Linked DNA regions of Homo sapiens: region 1 is linked to region 2. Evidence: promoter capture Hi-C in 16 types of primary human blood cells and fetal thymus (Javierre and others, 2016). All regions are on one chromosome and are shown on one strand. Each heading gives the region's core, a stretch centred on a gene start or on the middle of the fragment in contact. The rest is flanking DNA. Distances are from core to core; before and after follow the strand shown.

The links. The method cuts DNA at HindIII sites, captures the fragments that hold promoters and counts their contacts. A CHiCAGO score of 5 or more calls a contact.
Region 1: the fragment with the promoter of GDI1 here is called in contact with the fragment with the promoter of G6PD in region 2 in 7 of 17 cell types (total CD8 T cells, naive CD8 T cells, non-activated CD4 T cells and 4 more); the score reaches 8.0 in total CD8 T cells.

What each region holds. Positions count from the first base shown.
Region 1 is chrX:154,435,296-154,438,403 of GRCh38, forward strand. GDI1 (GDP dissociation inhibitor 1) reads left to right here and starts at 1,859. Exons shown (of 11, transcript NM_001493.3): 1 at 1,859-2,004. The coding sequence starts at 1,960. It overlaps ATP6AP1 (ATPase H+ transporting accessory protein 1), which reads left to right. Exons shown (of 10, transcript NM_001183.6): 9 at 1-210; 10 at 387-1,221. The coding sequence ends at 596. RefSeq lists an enhancer at 1,391-1,891. The HindIII fragment of the contact is 14,364 bases long and covers 1-3,108 here.
Region 2 is chrX:154,543,514-154,548,095 of GRCh38, forward strand. It overlaps G6PD (glucose-6-phosphate dehydrogenase), which reads right to left and starts at 3,333. Exons shown (of 13, transcript NM_001360016.2): 1 at 3,276-3,333; 2 at 2,523-2,650. The coding sequence starts at 2,642. IKBKG (inhibitor of nuclear factor kappa B kinase regulatory subunit gamma) reads left to right here and starts at 4,107. Exons shown (of 10, transcript NM_001099857.5): 1 at 4,107-4,232. RefSeq lists enhancers at 2,369-2,912, 4,215-4,494 and a silencer at 3,215-3,774. The HindIII fragment of the contact is 7,888 bases long and covers 1-4,582 here.

The DNA of each region.
Region 1 (3,108 bases), core at 609-3,108, 110 kb before region 2:
TACCCAGTGTCTGCCCGGCACTGGTTTACCATGGAGCGCCTCGAAGTCCACAGCAATGGCTCCGTCGCCTACTTCAATGCTTCCCAGGTCACAGGGCCCAGCATCTACTCCTTCCACTGCGAGTATGTCAGCAGCCTGAGCAAGAAGGGTAGTCTCCTCGTGGCCCGCACGCAGCCCTCTCCCTGGCAGATGATGCTTCAGGACTTCCAGGTATGGAGCGGGCGTGGCCCAGCTTCAGGTGGGGGAGCCCAGGCTAGTGGTTGAGAGACGAAGAGAGGCTTGGGCTTGGGCATGTAGTTGAGAGTCCTGTCCCTGCGCTGCCCCTGTCCCAGTTCTTGCTGGGCCTCCCAACGGTCCTTTCTGACCCGTGTCTGTGTGTCTGCCAGATCCAGGCTTTCAACGTAATGGGGGAGCAGTTCTCCTACGCCAGCGACTGTGCCAGCTTCTTCTCCCCCGGCATCTGGATGGGGCTGCTCACCTCCCTGTTCATGCTCTTCATCTTCACCTATGGCCTGCACATGATCCTCAGCCTCAAGACCATGGATCGCTTTGATGACCACAAGGGCCCCACTATTTCTTTGACCCAGATTGTGTGACCCTGTGCCAGTGGGGGGGTTGAGGGTGGGACGGTGTCCGTGTTGTTGCTTTCCCACCCTGCAGCGCACTGGACTGAAGAGCTTCCCTCTTCCTACTGCAGCATGAACTGCAAGCTCCCCTCAGCCCATCTTGCTCCCTCTTCAGCCCGCTGAGGAGCTTTCTTGGGCTGCCCCCATCTCTCCCAACAAGGTGTACATATTCTGCGTAGATGCTAGACCAACCAGCTTCCCAGGGTTCGTCGCTGTGAGGCGTAAGGGACATGAATTCTAGGGTCTCCTTTCTCCTTATTTATTCTTGTGGCTACATCATCCCTGGCTGTGGATAGTGCTTTTGTGTAGCAAATGCTCCCTCCTTAAGGTTATAGGGCTCCCTGAGTTTGGGAGTGTGGAAGTACTACTTAACTGTCTGTCCTGCTTGGCTGTCGTTATCGTTTTCTGGTGATGTTGTGCTAACAATAAGAAGTACACGGGTTTATTTCTGTGGCCTGAGAAGGAAGGGACCTCCACGACAGGTGGGCTGGGTGCGATCGCCGGCTGTTTGGCATGTTCCCACCGGGAGTGCCGGGCAGGAGCATGGGGTGCTTGGTTGTTTCCTTCCTAATAAAATAAACGCGGGTCGCCATGCGTTGGGCCTCTTGTCGCTCATTTCTGCGCTGGGCTTTAGGCGCGTGCTCGCCGGAGGGATGCGGGAGGATGGAGCCTGGCGAGGGGGAGGCGAAGAGGCATCCGCGGAGACCGGGAGGGGCTTTAGCAAGCTGGGCCCTAACCGCTCAGGGTAGGGAGGGGCGGTCGGGCCGAGTCCCGGTGCGCTTCGGCGTCTCAGGAGGCCGTCGTGACAATGGCAGCCTTCGCGTCGTGAGGGGGCCGCCCCAGGCTGCCGCAGCGGCGCGCGCCCGGCCGCGGGGCCGCGCCGAGACTCCCGGGGGGGTGGGCGGGGGTGGGGAGGTGGGCGGGCGCGCGCGGGGCGGGGCGGGGCGGGGCGCGGCGGGTGGGGCGGGGCGCGCGCGGCTCCCGCGCACGGATTCTTCCTGGGCCGCAGCACCGGCCGCCGGCCCGCCCCGCCCGCCCCGCCCCGCGCCTCTCTAGACTCTCGGCGAGCAGCGTCGCCCGCGGAGCCGCGCTGGTGCTGTGGCCCGGGCCCTGGCAGCCCTCCCGGGAGGCGAGCCGGGGAGGCGGTGGCCCCTGCCGGTTGCGGCGGGGCGCGGGAAGAGGCGGGACTCTTTGACGCGGCGGAGGGGTCGGGCGACGGCCGACGCGCCGCCATCTTTGGTCCAGTGCGGTGGCGGCGGCGGCGGTGGCGGCGGCGACTGCTGCGGTGAAGGAGGAGGAGGAGCCGAGCGGGCGCTGGCACCGAGGCCTGACCATGGACGAGGAATACGATGTGATCGTGCTGGGGACCGGTCTCACCGTAAGTGCGGCCCCGGCGCCCCTGGCCCTGCGTCGTGCCCTCGCCATCCCCCGCGATGATGCGGCCGCCGGCCCATCCTCTGGTCACTGCCATCTTCTGCGCTCCGCTCCCCGAAAAGCCGGCGCCGTGCCCACCCCGCTGCTCCCCCAGCGACGTCGCCTCTGCTCGTTGCCATGACCCCATCTCCCCGAAGAGGCCCCCTTCCTGGCCGCCTCCTGGGCTACCCGGGTCCGACCCCCGGCGCCCTCCCATCTTCCCTACCCCTGCCCGCTGGACCGGAAAACGCACCCCCACTCGGCCCGATGCCCACGACCCCGCCCACCCATCGCCCCCACCCATCACGGCATCCACCCGTCGCCCGCACCCATTGCCCGCCTAGCGTTGCCTCTCAGCGTCCGTTCCCATCTTGCGCTAATCCCGGTGGGGATGAAGTAGAAGGACCTGGGGTCAGGGGGCCTCGCCAGAGTGGGCCCTCAGCCCGCCTCCTCATCGTCTTCTGGGGCCAGGGGATCCAGGGAATGTTCCAGAAGGAACAGCAGTGGGGGCAGTAAGCACATTCCCGCAACCCCACCTCGGTTGCCCATGGAGACCTCAGGCTGGGTAGCATCTGCAGCCTTTGTCCTTGGGCTAGTGACAGTGACTGGTGAGGGTGTTTATCTTCCCCCTTTCCCCGAAAACCCCGTTGGCCTACTCCCCTCAGAGACTCTTCTTCCTCGGTCCAGGCCCAGATGCCCCTCCTCAGCGGCAGGGGCTCCTGCTATTTGAAGAAAGAGCAGTCCAGGGTGGGGCCTACAATTTCAAGGACTGTGCTAAGCCTTTCTTTTCCTCCCTTTCGAGTGTCCTTTGCAGTCCAGCTGGGTCTTCTCTGTGCCTTATTGTGTTTTATCCGCCTTTTTGTGCGGCTCTGCGTAGGTAGATGCCTCTCGGCGTGTTGGTACTGGAAGGCCATCCTGTGTCTGCTGGATGCCCTGCCTCCCTCAAAGCCTCCGTTATTTCACTCTCCGCCTTGTGAGGGGGACGGGACTCCTTTGCCCAGCAAGGTTGCAATGGAGAGTGTGGTCGGATGAAGCCATCACCCCAATTTTAGGCGAGGCAACTAGCCAG
Region 2 (4,582 bases), core at 2,083-4,582:
AGTCATAAGCTATCATTGTGGCCTGGGTTGCTCTGTTGCAGTGCCTTGTGACAGCATGGGGTGGGGATGGAGAAAGCAACCTCAGTTACCTTCTCCTCCAGTCTGCTTCTTGGACTAAGGGTTTAACGGTCAGAGTCCTGGCTGTTAAGGTTTGTGGCTGATGCAGGTATGGCTCTTTTTATTTTTATTTTTTTGAGATGGAGTCTCACTCACTCCGTCACCCAGGATGGAGTGCAATGGTGCCATCTCAGCTCACTGCAACCTCCACCTCCTGGGTTCAAGCGATTTTCCTGCCTCAGCCTCCCAAGTAGCTGGGATTACAGATGGGTGCCACTACACCTAACTAATTTTTGTTATTTTTTTTTTTTTTTTGAGATGGAGTCTCACTCTGTCACCCAGGCTGGAATGCAGTGTTGCGATTTCTGCTCACTGCAAGCTCCGCCTCCCGAGTTCACGCCTTTCTCCTGCCTCAGCCTCCTGAGTAGCTGGACTACAGGTGCCCACACCAGGCCTGGCTAATTTTTTATTTAGTAGAGACGGGATTTCACCATGTTAGCCAGGATGGTCTCAATCTCCTGACCTCATGATCCACCCGCTTCAGCCTCCCAAAGTGCTGGGATTACAGACGTGAGCCACTGCGCCCGGCCTTTTTGTTTTGTTTTGTTTTGAGACAGAGTCTCGCTCTGTCGCCAGGCTGGAGTGCAGTGGCGCGATCTCAGCTCACTGCAACCTCTGACTCCCTGATTCAAGCGATTCTACTGCCTCAGCCTACTGAGTAGCTGGGACTACAGGCACGCACCACCACGCCCAGCTAATTTTTGTATTTTTAGTAGAGATGGGGTTTCACCATGTTGGCCAGGATGGTCTCGATCTCTTGACCTTGTGATCTGCCCACCTTGGCCCCCCAAAGTGCTGGGATTACAGATGTGAGCCACTGCGCCCAGCCAATTTTTGTATTTTAAGTAGAGACTGGGTTTCGCCATGTTGGCCAGGCTGGTGTCAAACTCCTGACCTCAGGCGATCCACCTGCCTCGGCCTCCCAAAGTGCTGGGAATACAGGCGTGAGCCACCGTGCCCGGCCAGGTATGGCTCTTCTGAGGGGACCAGGCTGGGGCTGGGGCTGAGGCCAAGCCCAATCTACTGTGGGCTCCACCTGGTACCTCTCCTGGGTCTCAGGCTTATGGGGAGTCAGAGGACAATGGCCCCTCCTTACTCTGCCACTGGCAGAGCCCTTCTCCCTCGGCTGCCTCCTCATTCCCTTTTGGCTCTCCTTTTCTAAGTTCTGATCAGAAGTACAAAGGTGTCAAGGAGTAGGTTTGACAAAGTGTGACAGCGCGTTGTTCTATGTGAACAAAGAACCACTGAGCTCAGCCAGCACTGAGGGGCGCACGATGTGGAAGAACTAACTAGTTTTGATAGAGCTCCTGCTCAAGGTTACAAGGTAAGTTAATGGCAAAGATGGTCATACAGTAATGAGCAGAGAGATTCTTGAGTGCATCCAGGGTTAAAAGTGAAAACTGAGACCACGTGTAATTTGAGATGAAGCCCTTGTTCCACCAGCCCCTGCACAGTCTCACTGCCCCATGGGACACAGGGGAGGGTGCTCTAGTCTCGGGCGATGGCTGTCCTAGGACCACCCCTCCCTCCCCTCCCATGGAAATCCTCATGCTATACTATTCTTTTGTCTTTCCTATGAGTGCAGAATGGCGGTTCTACAAGCTGGACAATTGGGGCCAGGTGGGGTGAGGCAGAGCTCCTTGGTAGGCTTTCGAAATTGAGGCAAAGAGACAGTGTTCAAAGAAAAGCTAAGTGTTTGTATCGACGGAACTTGAAGTGTTAGTGAAGAGGCAGAGATCAGGCCTCAGATCCTGCCTTTGGAACTCATTTGTTAAGGCATGAACAGGTCTGAAAAAACTACAGAATGAATAGCATTCCCTGTTTTCCCCAAGAAGTCCATCTAGACAGTCCCTAAAGAGCCTGCAACTCCAGGATTAAGGGCTACATTCAGCGGCTAGGCACAGGGTTCAGAAACGTCCTGCAGCCGGGCGTGGTGGCTCATGCCTGTCATCCCAGCACTTTGGGAGGCCGAGGCGGGCGGATCACTTGAGGTCAGGAGTTTGAGACCAGCCTGGTCAACATGGTGAAACTCCGTCTCTACTAACAATACAAAAATTAGCCGGGTGTGGTGGTGCATGCCTGTAATCTCAGCTACTTGGGGGGCTGAGGCAGGAGAATCGCTTGAACCCAGGAGGCCGAGGTTGCAGTGAGCCAAGATGGCGCCACTGCACCCCATCCTGGGCGACCAGAGCAAAACTCCGTCTCCAAAAAAAAAAAAAAAAAAAAGTCTTGCAAGTGCATATGCACACCAGGTAGAGCCGGGATGATCCTGGCGCACTAGCAGGAGCGGGAGGAGGAGCTCAACTTAGCAGAGCCTGTGGGGCCCTGCAACAATTAGTTGGAAAAGCTGAGGCATGGAGCAGGCACTTCCTGGCTTTTAAGATTGGGGCCTGGGAGATACTCACCGATGCACCCATGATGATGAATATGTGTGTATCCGACTGATGGAAGGCATCGCCCTGGAAAAGCTCTTCCCGCAGGATCCCGCACACCTGGGTCCGGCTCAGGGCCACCTGCTCTGCCATGACGCTGTCTGGTGGAAGAAAGGCTCGTTAACAAGGCAGAAGAACAGGAGAGCATTGAGAAGTTAGCCCCTTTCTTGAGAGTTCCTCTGGGGTCTCACACCAGGGTGACACCTGATTGCCCAAATCACTCCTTGTGAACGGCTGGGCATTGGGGAGTGGTTGATGGGTTAGAAACTGCTGGCTCTGGGCTCCAGCCACTCTCTCCTAGGCAGCCTTCATTCAGGGTGTACATTACAAAATTACTCAAAGCATTGGTGTATTCCGACTACAGCATCAATTCTGGACAACCGAGTAAAATCCTTGTGGGGCATGGAACTGCGTGCCCAGGACCATCTCATTCCCGACTGTAGCGGGAACTCCACAATGACCTGGAGCATGGGAGATGGTGCAGATGCTGGAGTTCAGCTCCAGCCCTCCCCTTGCCAAGCTGGGTGACCCCGGTCGGCAAGTCCCCTTCGCTCTCGGGGTCTCAGGGGCTCAAGAGAGGAGGTGCGGGGTATAAAGGGATTGGTTAAGACCCTCTCGATTCTGCTCGGTTCTCAAGCACAACAAACAGCGTGTATTTTACCGCCGCGCGGCGCAGCGCGGGACAGTACGCTCCTCCGCCTGCGCGGCGCCCGCCCGGCCGGTTACCTGCGCTTCGTCGTCGTCGCCCTCCGCGCTCGCAGCCCCGAAGTGTACGACCGTTTCCGGGGGCTGAGCCCCGCCGGCCCATTTAATCGGCGGGGGCGGGGGCGGGCGCCTGGGCTGAGCGGACCCGCCTCAGGCGAGGCGTGCGGGGCGGGGCCTCGGCCACCACCCCTCGTGCGGGCGGGGCGGGGCGAGGGCAGGTGCGCGCGCATCCCAGGCCAGCCCCTGCCTCTCGGGCACCTGCGCTGGAGGCCGGCCCGCCGGCTGCCTGCCATACCCGCTGCCGCTGCTCTGCATCCCCAATTCCGGCGGGCACGGGTGCAGCTCCGCGTAGTGCTCCCGCATCCCCATCGCCGGCCCGGCCCCGCCCCTACTGTCCGGTTTCCCCGCCTGCCCCGGCGGCCTCGCGCGCTCGCGGAGGGCTCCACTTCCGCCGGCAGCGTGGCCACGCCTCCTCTGGGCTGTCCCTCGGCTCCTGGGCGGGGCCTTCTGCCGCGCCACTCCCCCGGGAACCCTCGCCTGTTCGCGGGTCAAGCCGGCCCTATTGGGCAGTCTCTTCTTGATTCCTCCCCCGGAGAGGGCGGGGCGGCCGAGCGCCCCGAGGCTAGACGCCGCCGTCCGAGAGACGAGGGGGCGTGTAGGCGGTGACGCCCTGCAAAGTGGCCGGCGTGCTTATCATTACCGAGCTTCCGCGGGCCTGCAGAGCCTGGCGGACTCAGACTTCTCTCCGGAGCGGGATGCGGCCCTACCGCGGCCTCACACTTCTCGCCGGCTTCCCGAGTTCTCGGGGGCGGGGCTTGTGTTTTTACTTCCGGATCCCACAGCTATGACACCGGAAGCCGGAAGCGTGGTAGGGAAGGGCGACCGCGAAACTGGGACTTTCTCGGAGCGCCGGGGCCCTACCAGCGTTCACAGTCCGCCGCTCCCACCCTTCTCACGTCTGACGGACTCTGCTGACAGGTGTGGTCCTTTTCCCCAAAGACAGGGTTCCATCCGTGGGCGTTCCGCCGCCTCCGAAACTTCCCCCGGACGTTCAGGCTCCCCCCTCTTTTTTGGGCCCCAGCCCGTTCCTGCTCCGCGCTTCTGGAGCACTGGCCAAGGCGGGCCGATTCAGGACCCAGGTTACTTGGGCGGCGAGCTGGACTGTTTCTACTCCTCCCTCCTCCTCCACTGCGGGGTCTGACCCTACTCCTTGTGTGAGGACTCCTCTAGTTCAGAGACATATTCTGTTCACCAAACTTGACTGCGCTCTATCGAGGTCGTTAAATTCTTCGGAAATGCCTCACATATAGTTTGGCAGCTAGGTATCT